3 separate regions of the Homo sapiens genome follow, and all the other regions are linked to region 3. The links are contacts of gene promoters, found by promoter capture Hi-C in blood cells and fetal thymus (Javierre and others, 2016). All regions are on one chromosome and are shown on one strand. The core of a region is centred on a gene start or on the middle of the fragment in contact, and the rest is flanking DNA. Distances in the headings are between cores, read along the strand shown. Region 1 holds the start of ADSS1 (adenylosuccinate synthase 1). Region 2 holds the start of SIVA1 (SIVA1 apoptosis inducing factor). Region 3 overlaps ASPG (asparaginase).

Region 1 (3,755 bases), core at 529-3,028, 640 kb after region 3:
CCTTGTCTGATGGGACTTTGTGGTTCCTGGTGGACATTTAACATTGTCGGTTTCTCTCATCTGGAAACAAACCTCCATGACGCTCTTGGTTTCTCCTGTTGCAGTCTGCCTCTTCCCTACCTGCACAGCTCTCTGCTGTGCCCCAAATTCCCTCCTTGACACCCCCAGACCCACTGCCCCACCCTCAGGTGCAGCCCCTTCTCAGCAGGCTCCAGGTTCTGCCAAATCTCAGAGCCCTCCAACCCTGCTCCAGCCCCTTCCCAAGCTGGGGCCGGTGGTCTGTTCACCCCCGACCAGCTGTCACCCCCAAGGTGGCACTAGGAAGTTCATGCATGAAGACTGCTTTTCCACTGAGGCCCCACTGACTGCTTGGAACCCATACAACGGCATTTTCCCCGCAAGGATGCTGAGGGAGAGGAAGTGTCGATGTGCCCAGTGGAAGAAGAGGGGACTGGGGACATGGGTGCAGGGGGCAGGAGGCCAGGCTTCAAACAGCCCCTCTCCCCCAGGCTGGGGCACGGTCAGGTGCCAAGAGAGGAGGGGTGGGGAGGCTGCAGGCAGGGGTGGGCAGTGGTGTCCTTGGCTGCACCTGAATCACTAACTCAGTGTGAGCGACCTTTGCTGTGACAGGCCCAAGCTCCACTCCTTCCTCACAGGGAGTGTCCCGTCTCCATGGACTCCCTGTCACTAGCCTTGGAGTTGCCCTGAGCCCAAGGGGCCTCGTGGCTCCAGGCTCTTTGGCAACTGAGAGCCGTCAGGGAGGGAACAAAGGACCCCGCCTCCCTGCTCTGAAGCAAGAACCTGATTCTCTTTTCCGCCCTTGGGGCCCCAGGACCCTTCTCTTGGCCACCAGGGCTGGCTTCCTCCAAGCCTCATCTACTTGGGAGGGGTGGGGCGGGATGGGTGAGACAGGACAACCAGCCGGGAACACGGGAGCCTCGCAGACCATCGCCTCCCTCTGGGGCCTAGTCCCTCCACAGGCTGGGCCGGGAAGGTCTGGTGTGGGACCTCTTGGGAACCTGGGCCCCACGGTGGCGTGCATCCCTGGGGGTTGCTCCCATGCCAGCCAGGTGACGCTGACAGGATGGGTCCCTTTACCCCAGACTTGGGTGCTGAGGGCCGGAGCTCCATGCTGGAGCCCGCCTGCTCGCTACAGCCAGGCCCGAGCCACAGCGCGCCCGGGCGGGACGCGGGGCCCCTGCCGTGGGGCAGAAGTGCGGGCAGTTGCGGGGACACAAAGTCCTCGGAGAGGACGCGCTGCGCGGCTCTTCGCGGCCGCCAGGGGGCGCGCCCGCGCCCAGGGCACTCGGGGTTCCACGGGGGGCAGGTGCGCTCCTCGAGAGTGCGGACCCTCTAGGTGGGGTGCAGGACGCAGCTCCCCTTTTGCAAACCGCACTCCTTCCCTGGAGGGAACGACCACCCCTGCAGTTGCTGGAACCCCGAAGTCCTGGGCCCGGCAAGGGCTTGGTGGGGGGTGAGGTCGCGGTGCACAAGCCCTGGTCCCCGACGGGCTAGCGAGAAACTGCCTCCGTTGGCAAATTCGTGGGGGCGGCTCCCCAGGCCATCTGCCTGCCTGGCCGTTGGTCCGTGCGGCCCCTCACCCCTAAAGTGCTCGAGACTCAACTGGGCTTCCCGGGCAGCGGCGAGGGGGCGGGGATGTGGCGGCCGGAGGTCACCGGGGCGTCACTGCGCCCGCCCTGGCCCTCCCCCGGCCCGCCCCCTGCCCCGCCCCCTGCCCCGGCCCGGCTCCATTTAATGGCGCGGACGCCGGCGGCGGCGGGCTCCTGGCCGGGCCAGCGCAGCGGAAGAGCCAAGCCAGCATGTCGGGGACCCGAGCCTCCAACGACCGGCCCCCCGGCGCAGGCGGCGTCAAGCGGGGGCGGCTGCAGCAGGAGGCGGCGGCGACCGGCTCCCGCGTGACGGTGGTGCTGGGCGCGCAGTGGGGGGACGAGGGCAAAGGCAAGGTGGTGGACCTGCTGGCCACGGACGCCGACATCATCAGCCGCTGCCAGGTGCGGGCTGGGGCGCCGGGTCCCTCCCCCACCGCCCAGCGAGCCCCCCTCCCCCGACCCAGACGGCCCCTGTCCTCCCATGCCCTGGCCGGTCACTCACCCGCTTGGATGCCTTCCTTCCGGGAGCACCTTTCCCAGGGCCACCCCACCCACGCACGCACACGCACCACTCACACAACCCCCGACCCACACACACCGCCCTCCTTCCACCCACCCCTACTCCACCACCCCGGCAGCGGGCCAGGGCACAGCTATAAATACAAGTCGCTGAGTTGGGGACACCCGATCCTTAGGGGGTGGCGCATGCCATGGGTGTGACGCTGGACCCTCCATGGGGGAACCAGAGGACCCAGCCCCAGGATGGTTTGAGGACCCCCAAGACACCCCCCTTCCTCATTTACAGTGATCACCTGGGGCCTGTCTGGGTCTGGGATAGGGCTTACCTGGCTCCCCGCAAGGTCTGCAGGTGGTGGAGGGGGTAAAAGCTGCCTGCTGGGTGGGGGTGACCCCGGTGAGTCAGCCAAGGAGAGGCAGAGGTGGAAGGGGGCCAGGCCGTCCTGGGGGGCAATTGGGGCCGCGCCTGAGGGAGGGTGCTTGGGACGATCCTAGCCAGACATGGGAGAGGGAGGGCCACAGACTTCTGGCCAGGGTGACCCCGTGGCTGGCAGTGCCACCGAGGAGGCCAGACCTGCTTTGTCCCCCAGGGCCCAGGGCTGGGCCTCTGCCAGCCGGCAGCTGCTCTCAGCGCCCCCATCTGTTCTGACTGAGCTGCACACTGGGCACTCTCTCGGGCCGCCACCCTGGGGCTACATGCCCCATGCCAGGGCAGCCAAGTCTGCTGCCCATGGGCTGACTTACAGCTCCAGGCACAAAGGGGTCAACTTTGGGATGCACGCGTCTGGGGTTTGGAGCCTGCCTGGGGCTGCTGCCAATAATGGAACAAGGGCCCCCGCACCGTCCCTTCTCCGGGTTCTGTGGCCTCCTTCCTGAGCTCCAGAGAGGAGGGCTGGGGCCCAAGACGAAGGGAGTCAGCCCAGCACCCTGTGTGGCTCAGGGCTGTCCGAGCCCCTCCTGCCGGAAGGGACTGTGGCTTCCTAGAAAGTTCTTCCTGGAACAGTGGGGGACCTCCCCCCTTGCTCTCCGTCCTAAGCAGCAGGCAAGCACATCCCTCGCTCCAGAGATCCCCCAGGTCCTAGAGGTGGTCCTCAGCCCATGCTCCCTCCACACTGCCTCTGCCCCGCCACCTTGTCCTGGGCCGCCAGGGGGCATGTCCAGCGCTCTACTGCTCTTCACCCTCCAGGGCGCCCTCAGCGTGGGGCAGCCCCGGCCCCTGACCCTCCTTAGACCTCTCTGCTCCCGTGAGGCCCAGGCCCCTCCCTATGAGCTGCCAGCTCTGGTGGGCGCCATGCACTTCTGCAGGGCGGGCTGGGGCCCCCACAGGTGCTGTACACAGCATTCACCTGGCTCCGCGCTCCCAGCTGTGGAGATGGTTCTGGATCTGGGCACTCCCTGCTGTGCCCCCCACCCAGTCCCCCCACAGCCCCGCTCACTCGCAGCTGCACACGGGAGCACGGAGGATGCAGCAGGCTGGAGCCCATCCCGCACTCCGGCCACCAGGCTGCCCCCGCCAGGCCACCCCCACCAGGCCACCCTATAGCCTGAGGGAGCCCCTGGCTCTCCAAGTGAGTGGGAATAAAAGAGGTTTGTCCCTGGAGCCCACACCTGTCCCCCTGCAGCCTCCTC
Region 2 (3,557 bases), core at 1,020-3,519, 660 kb after region 3:
ACCCATATCCTGCTGATTGGTCCATTTTACAGAGGGCTGGTCTGTTTTACAGAAAGCTGATTGGTCCGTCTTGACAGGGCGCTGATTGGTGTGTTTACAATCCCTGAGCTAGACACAGAAGTTCTCCAAGTCCCCACAGAGCACTGATTGGTGCATTTACAAACCTTGAGCTAGATACAGGGTGCTGATTGGTGTCTTTACAAACCTTGAGCTAGACACAGAGTGCTGATTGGTGTATTTACAGTCCCTTAGCTAGACATAAAGGTTCTCCAAGTCCCCACCAGATTAGCTAGATACAGAGTGCTGATTGGTACATTTACAAACCTTGAGCTAAACACAGAGTGCTGACTGGTGCGTCCACAATCCCACAGCTAGACATAAAGGTTCTCCAAATCCCCACCAGATTAGCTGGATACAGAGTGCCCATGGGTGCATCTACAAACCTTGAGCTAGACACAGGGTACCGATTGGTGAGTTTACAAACCTTGAGCTAAACACAGTGCTGATTGGTGTATTTACAATCCCTTAGCTTGACATAAAGGTTCTCCAAGTCGCCGCTAGACTCAGGAGCCCAGCTGGCTTCACCTAGTGGATCCCACACCGGGGCTGCAGGTGGAGCTGCCCGCCAGTCCCGCGCCGTGCGCCCGCACTCCTCAGCCCTTGGGCGGTCGATGGGACCGGGTGCCGCGGAGCAGGGGGCCGCGCAAGAGCCCACGGCAGGGGGGAGACTCAGGCATGGCGGGCTGCAGGTCCTGAGCCCTGCCTCGCGGGGAGGCAGCTGAGGCCCGGTGAGAATTCGAGCGCAGCGCCGGCGGGCCGGCACTGGTGGGGGACCCGGCGCATCCTCCGCAGCTGCTGGCCCGGGTGCTAAGCTCCTCACTGCCTGGGGCCGGTGGCTCCGATTGCGGGGCCCGCCGAGCCCACGCCCACCCGGAACTCACGCTGACCCGCAAGCGCCACGTGCAGCCCGGGTTCCCGCCCGCACCTCTCCCTCCACACCTCCCTGCAAGCTGAGGGAGCCGGCTCCGGCCGCGGCCAGCCCAGAGAGGGGCTCCCACAGTGCAGCGGCGGGCTGAAGGGCCCCTCGAGCGCGGCCAGAGTGGGCGCCGAGAGCGAGCGAGGGCTGCCAGCACGCTGTCATCTCTCACAGGGCGAAGCCCACGCCACAGGACGGGTCGGTTCTGTACCCGCCGGGGCAGGGGAGAGCCGCCTCTGGTGAGCAGAACCCCGGAGAAGGGACGACGCGGGTGCACCTCGCGGCATGGGGACACCAAGTCAGACGAACCCGCTGTGCAAGAACATTTTCCACACAGCGGCGCATACCCCCGCCCGGGGGCGCTCGGCAGCCGCACGCGGCCCTCAGAGCGCAGCCCCCACACGCCTTTACTTCTGGAAGGCGGAGACCGCCACAGTGAGGAGCTAAGCCAGCTGAGGCAACACAGAAAAACCCCCGTTCCTACCCAAAACCAAAAAGCGGGGCGCGGAGGCGCGCGCCTGCGGTCCCAGCTACCGGGGAGGCCGAGAAGGGAGGATCGCCTGAGCCCGGGAGGCGCAAGCTACAGTGAGCCGAGACTGCCACTGCACTCAGTCTGGGTGACAGAGCGAGACCCTGTCTCTAAAGGGGAAAAAAGAGCTAGGAAGAAGCGGGCTGCCTCTTAACTTCGGAGAAGTAAATGAGGAACTATAACCAGTGTCTACCGTTTAGGAACCAAACAAAAGCTGACAGGAATCCCGCCACCGACCCAGCCGCCCCAGACTTTGCCCTGGCCTATCCCGCGCCGCTCCTCAAACTAGACCCGCCCCGACGTCGCCCTGGCCTATCCCACGCCGATCCTCAAACGAGGCCCGCCCCCGATGCACAAGCTCCGCCCTCGTTGCACCGTCCTGACCCTCGGCCTCGCCCCCGCCCCCTGGCTCTTCCCGCGCAGCCGAATGCCGCGACCTGGCTCCCACCCTTCGTCGCTTCGCGCCGCATAGGAACCCCGCCCCTAGTCTCTCCTCCCGCCTATCCTGAGCGGCGCGCGCACAAATCTCTCCCACGGACCCGCCCACCCTGATCCTCAACCTGGCCCCTGGCCTTTCCCGCGGCGTCGAGTCCAGTACACCGACGCACGAGTCCCACCCCCGATCTCTCCCTCGGCCTATCCCGCGCCGCTCCGCGCAGGAGTCCCGCCTCCCACTTCGCCCGCAGCCTATGACGCGCCGCGTCGCTCCCTCTCCTCAAACCCGCTCTCGCCCGCGGATGGGCGCGCAGCTGTGACGTCACGGCGTCGTTGGTAAGGGGCTGGCGGCCGGGGAGCTGCGTAGCTCCCGGCCCCGCGGCCATGCCCAAGCGGAGCTGCCCCTTCGCGGACGTGGCCCCGCTACAGCTCAAGGTCCGCGTGAGCCAGAGGGAGTTGAGCCGCGGCGTGTGCGCCGAGCGCTACTCGCAGGAGGTCTTCGGTGAGTGTCGGGCGGGCTGCCGAGGGTCCGCTGCGTCGGGGCCTGGAACGGGCCGGGCCTCAGCGTCCCCTCTGAGGCCTGAGCGGGGGGCTGGAGGGCCCTGCTTTCTGGCCCCGCGTTCCCGGAAGCTGGGAGGCCGCGGGGACACAAGCTGGCCACGCCCAGGGCTGGGGTCAGTGAGGGGGATGTGAGGACCCCAGCGTTCGCCCACCCTGTCCAACAGCCTGAAAGAAAAGGGTCCCTGCCCCTAGCCCCCGCGCCCTCTTCCACGATCCCGGTTAGTCGCCGCCCTGCAGTGAGCGGCACCCGCCTGGTGCTTTCTCAGGACTGTCCCGTGCAGGATGTCCTGGGAGAGGTTGGGGAGCGGGGCGTCCTGCATGGAGTCAACCCGAAGAGTGCCCCTCCTGTCCCAAGAGGTATTCATGGAGCGCGCGGCCCTGCCAGGCACGGCGGCTTTCTCGGGAGACCAAAGGCAGGCAAGACAGATGTGCCCCGTCTCCCGGGAGCTCCCCAGCCTAGTTGGGGAGACCAGCAGGAGGAGTCGCCACAGGTGGTCGGGGCAGGCACAGGTTTGTGCAGGCGCACCTGCAGGGATGGCACGGAAGGCTTCTTGGAAGAACAGTCTGAGCGGAATCCTGTGGGGGCGAGTAGGAGTTAGCCAGGCAGAGGAAGGGAAGGAAGAGGGCGAGGCAGAAGCCAGGCAGCAGGAGAGCGAAATAGGACTCCGTGTGGCTGCAGTGTCCAGTTCTGGGTGGGATGTGAGGGCAGTGAGCTCCCAGGCCTTCTCTGGCTTTCTCCTGTGGATTTCAGGCGTGTTGATCTTATTGATCATCACTCTGACTGGGGTGATTAATACCCTGGGGCAGGTAAAAAGTGGAGCTTACCTTGCCTAGTGATTGGGACACAAAGTCTGCACCTGTAGAGCAGTTAGAGGATGACCCGGGGTGTGTGATTTACCTGGTGCCGCTTGTGCCTTGGGAATGAGGGAAAGACTCTGCCTCCCGAGGTTCCTCTGTGCGGTGTCTCCAGTGTGCTAGGGCTGTGAAAGCGAGTGCTATTCTGGGCCATGGGGAGGTAAGGGGAATGATGCCGTGGGAACTGTGGCAGGACCGCAA
Region 3 (3,792 bases), core at 201-2,700:
TCTGCCAGGGCCCTGTAGGGGCTGTGGGCTGATAACAGGGTCTGAGCTGGGTGTGTGGATGGTGTGGAGTTTGGAGGCAGCCCAGGGAGGGCTTCTCTGAGGACACAAGGCCTGCAGGACAAAGATGGGAGAGGGCCAGGCCAGGAGCAGCCCTGCAAGGTGCAGGAAAGAGGAGTGGGGAGCCCAGCAGGGCCGGAGCCTGCCAGAGCTGCCCCCGAGTGGGGACAGGACCTGGGGACTCTGTGTGGGGCCTCGTCCGACGCCCCTGACGCTACCCCTTCAGGCTTGGAGTGTGGCCAACTGCAGTTTCGTTGAGCTCAACATGTAGTTCTTGAGTGGTCCGAGCTGCAGGGGCAGGTGGACTCTGTAACCCCACCACACACCCGTCTCGCTTGGCCCCCGCGTGCTCGCCGCAGCAGCCTGTGGGTGCACTCACACGCGTGCACCGCATTTCTGAAAGAGGCTGTGAGGTCCTGTGTCTGGGTGGGAAACAAGAGACTTGGAGGCTGGAAATTGGGTGTGGGGCGTCAGTCTTCAGACCTGAAGCAGCCTTCTGAGATCCCTTGGTGCTCTGTGCACTGGGGTCCTGGCTTCTGCTCAGCAGCCCGTCCTCGTGTGGCTGCGAGGTCACCCCCAGCTGTTGCTAGCTGACCCATGTGGGGCATCCACTTCCAGGAACCTGCAGGAATGGGCTCCCCCAACCCCTCGTGAGGTTGGAGCAGCCAGACTGTCAGGCGTCAATGATTTACTCCCTCCACACTGCTGACGTGGGCTCTGGCCTTCCCTGGGGAGGTGAGAGGGGAGTGGTGGCTTTGCCCTAGTAAAGCTGTTTGATTGTCGCTGTTGGAACGGCTTCTGCGCCTGCTGGTAAACAGTGACCTGTGGGTGGAACGCTGCACACCTGGAGCCCTGCCAGAGTTCAGGGAGGGCAGAGGTGATGCCAGTGGGGACGCCCCTTGACCCATCCCTTCTCTGAGTTCATTGAAGCTATCACAGGTCAAGGGGCATAGCGAATCCAAACACGGCTGATAACCCCAAGCCCAAGCTGGCATCAGTGGCCACGTTCTGTACACCCGAGAAACTTGAAGACTTCCTATGTCAAACTGGGAACCCCACCTGCTTGCCGGCCTGTCCCAAAGTCCCTCCTGAGCCCGGCTCCTTGCAGGCACAGCAGGGAGGGCAGAGATCTGGGGCCAGGCAGCTGAGAGAAGCTCCCTGCCCGGTGACCACACGGGTCCCAGCAGTCGAGAGTGTCAGTGGAGTGATGCCCATGGCTTCTTGGTTACTGCAGTGGCGTCTGTGCCCTTGGCCTGGACCTCCTTCCTGAATGGGTGCTACACGTTCACAAGTTTCTAAGCCTAAGCTTGACTTCGCTGGTGACAGTGGGGCCCATTGTCTTAGAGAGCAAAGCCTCCTTTCCAGGTGTTTGGCAGGGGGCTGAGGAGTTTCCAAGTCACCAGCAAACTCAGGCACCTGCCTGGATGGGCCAAGGAAGAGGTTCCAGGCAGGGCTGGAGGGTTCAGATTCTGCAGCCCTTGAAGCTTTTGGAGGGCCCTCATTGAGAAAAGTAATACAAGTTACAAAATCATAGTTAGGTGTGAAAGCCGGTGTTTGTTTATTTTTTATTTATTTTTATTTTTTTGAGATGGAGTCTCACTCTGTCGCCCAGACTGGAGTGCAGTGGCGCGATCTCAGCTCACTGCAAGCTCTGCCTCCCGGGTTCACACCATTCTCCTGCCTCAGCCTCCCGAGTAGCTGGGACTACAGGCGCCCGCCACCGTGCCCGGCTGAAAGCTGGTGTTTATTTAAAATAACAAAAGAAATTGCCCCAGCTGACTGGGCGCGGTGGCTCACACCTGTAATCCCAGCACTTTGGGAGGCTGAGGTGGGTGGATCACTTGAGATCGGGAGTTCAAGACCAGCCATGGACAACATGGTGAAACCCTGTCTCTACTAAAAATACAAAAAAAAAATTAGCCAGATGTGGTGGCAGATGCCTGTGGTCCCAGCTACTGGGGAGGCTGAGGCATGAGAATCGCTTGAACCCAGGAGGTGGAGGTTGCAGTGAGCCGAGATCTCGCCACTGCACTCCAGCCTGAGTGACAGAGTGAGACCCTGTCTCAAACAAACAAAAAAAACTGATGCCACTACATACCTGTTAGAATGGCTGCTGACGTACAACACATTGACTGCGGGGTGAGTGCTGGAGCCCCAGAGTTGGAAAGTGGTCCACTCGCAGGTTGGTAAGAAAACTTTACTGGCGACAGTATAGGTTTGAAAAAGGAACGTTTGGCCAGACATGGTGGCTCAGGCCTGTAATTCCAACACTTTGGGAGGCCAAGGCGGGTGGTTCACTTGCCTTGCTAACATGGCGAAACCCCGTCTCTACTAAAAATAAAAAATTAGCTAGGTGTGGTGGTGCATGCCTGTAATCCCGGCTACTCGGGAGGCTAAGGCAGGAGAATTGCTTGAGCCGGGTGGGTGGAGGTTGCAGTGAGTCGAGATGGCATCACTGTACTCCAGCCTGGGCAACAGAGTGAGACTCTGCCTCAAAAAAAAAAAAAAAAAAAAAAAAAAAGGAAGAAAGGAGAAGAAAAAGAAAAAAGAAAGAAATTGGCCAGGCTGGTTTTGAACTCCTGGGCTCAAATGATCTTCCTGCATCAGCCTCCCAAAATTCTGGGATTACAGGTGTGAGCCATAAAAACCACTGCAAAAGCACATATGGAGTGTTTTGCTTGAGAGAAGAGGACACCAAGAGAGTTTAGTCTTGTCTTTGGCTGATTTCGCCTGTGGTGCCCACACATGCCCCCAGCAGGGACAGCAGGGCCCATATCCACGCCTACCACTCTGCAGCATTCCTGGAAGTTTCTGGAAGCTGTTCCCCCACATGAGTCAGCAGCAGCTGGAGGTGACCTTGCACAACGTGAGCATGTCCCACAAAACCAAACCAGATATGCCCCCTCCACCTTTCCCATAAGGCACCCCAGCTTCACCCGCCGTGATGAGTGGAGAGTGACTTTTTGTTTCCTGTGGCCACTGTGCCGGGCGGCTGAACATCACAGAAGTTCGTTCTGGGTTCTGGAGGCCGAGGCCTGAGAGGGGTTTCCCCGGGCTGAGCCAAGGTGCTGCAGGGCACCGCTCCGTCCTGACGCTCTGCGGGAGGAGCCACCCCTGCCACCTCCAGTGTCTGGTGGCTGCTGCAATCCTTGGCTTGTGGCCGCATCACTCCAGTCATCCAGGCCAGCATCTCCAAGGGCCGCTCTGCCCTGTCGTCATATGGCCTTCCCCTCCCCGTGCCCTGTGGCCTTCCACCTGTGAGGAAACACGAGAGGGCGTTTAGGGCCCACCTGGATTGTCCAGGGCCACCTCCCGCCCCATGACCCCTAATATCACATCCGTAAAGACACTTCCATATGAAGTGACACCCACAGGTACCGGGGATTGGGATGTGGACATCTTTTTAATTTTTATGTATTTATTTAATTTTTTGAGACAGTCTCATTCTGTCACCCAGGCTGGAGTGCAGTGGTGCGATCTTGGCTCACTGCAACCTCCGCCTGCCAGATTCAAGTGATTCTCCCGCCTCAACCTCCCAAGTAGCTGGGATTACAGGCACCTGCCATCATGACCAGTTAATTTTTGTATTATTCGTAAAGACAGGGTTTCACCATGTTGACCAGGCTGGTCTTGAATTCCAGACCTCAAGCAATCTGACACCTCGGCCACCCAAAGTGCTGGGATTCCAGGCCTGAGGCACTGCGCCCGGCCCTGGGATGCGGACATCTAGGATGC

What was found. Contacts are between HindIII fragments. The CHiCAGO score rates a contact against its expected background, and 5 or more counts as called.
Region 1: a contact is called between the fragment with the promoter of ADSS1 here and a fragment that was not itself captured in region 3, in 4 of 17 cell types (naive B cells, M1 macrophages, M0 macrophages and 1 more). The highest score is 9.6, in naive B cells.
Region 2: a contact is called between the fragment with the promoter of SIVA1 here and a fragment that was not itself captured in region 3, in 1 of 17 cell types (M1 macrophages). The highest score is 5.2, in M1 macrophages.

What each region holds. Positions count from the first base shown.
Region 1 is chr14:104,722,451-104,726,205 of GRCh38, forward strand. It overlaps ADSS1 (adenylosuccinate synthase 1), which reads left to right and starts at 1,779. Exons shown (of 13, transcript NM_152328.5): 1 at 1,779-2,012. The coding sequence starts at 1,821. INF2 (inverted formin 2) reads left to right here. Exons shown (of 23, transcript NM_022489.4): 23 at 1-85. RefSeq lists enhancers at 1-29, 2,826-3,526 and a silencer at 1,586-1,995. The HindIII fragment of the contact is 19,560 bases long and covers 1-3,755 here.
Region 2 is chr14:104,750,878-104,754,434 of GRCh38, forward strand. SIVA1 (SIVA1 apoptosis inducing factor) reads left to right here and starts at 2,270. Exons shown (of 4, transcript NM_006427.4): 1 at 2,270-2,442. The coding sequence starts at 2,325. All of the region lies in intron 2 of LOC107987209 (a long non-coding RNA gene), which reads right to left. RefSeq lists enhancers at 1,296-1,385, 2,089-2,590, 2,236-2,285, 2,296-2,365 and a silencer at 1,766-2,135. The HindIII fragment of the contact is 19,431 bases long and covers 1-3,557 here.
Region 3 is chr14:104,087,397-104,091,188 of GRCh38, forward strand. All of the region lies in intron 1 of ASPG (asparaginase), which reads left to right. Among named protein-coding and RNA genes, the nearest start is that of ASPG, 3.6 kb to the left of the region's middle. The HindIII fragment of the contact is 178 bases long and covers 1,362-1,539 here.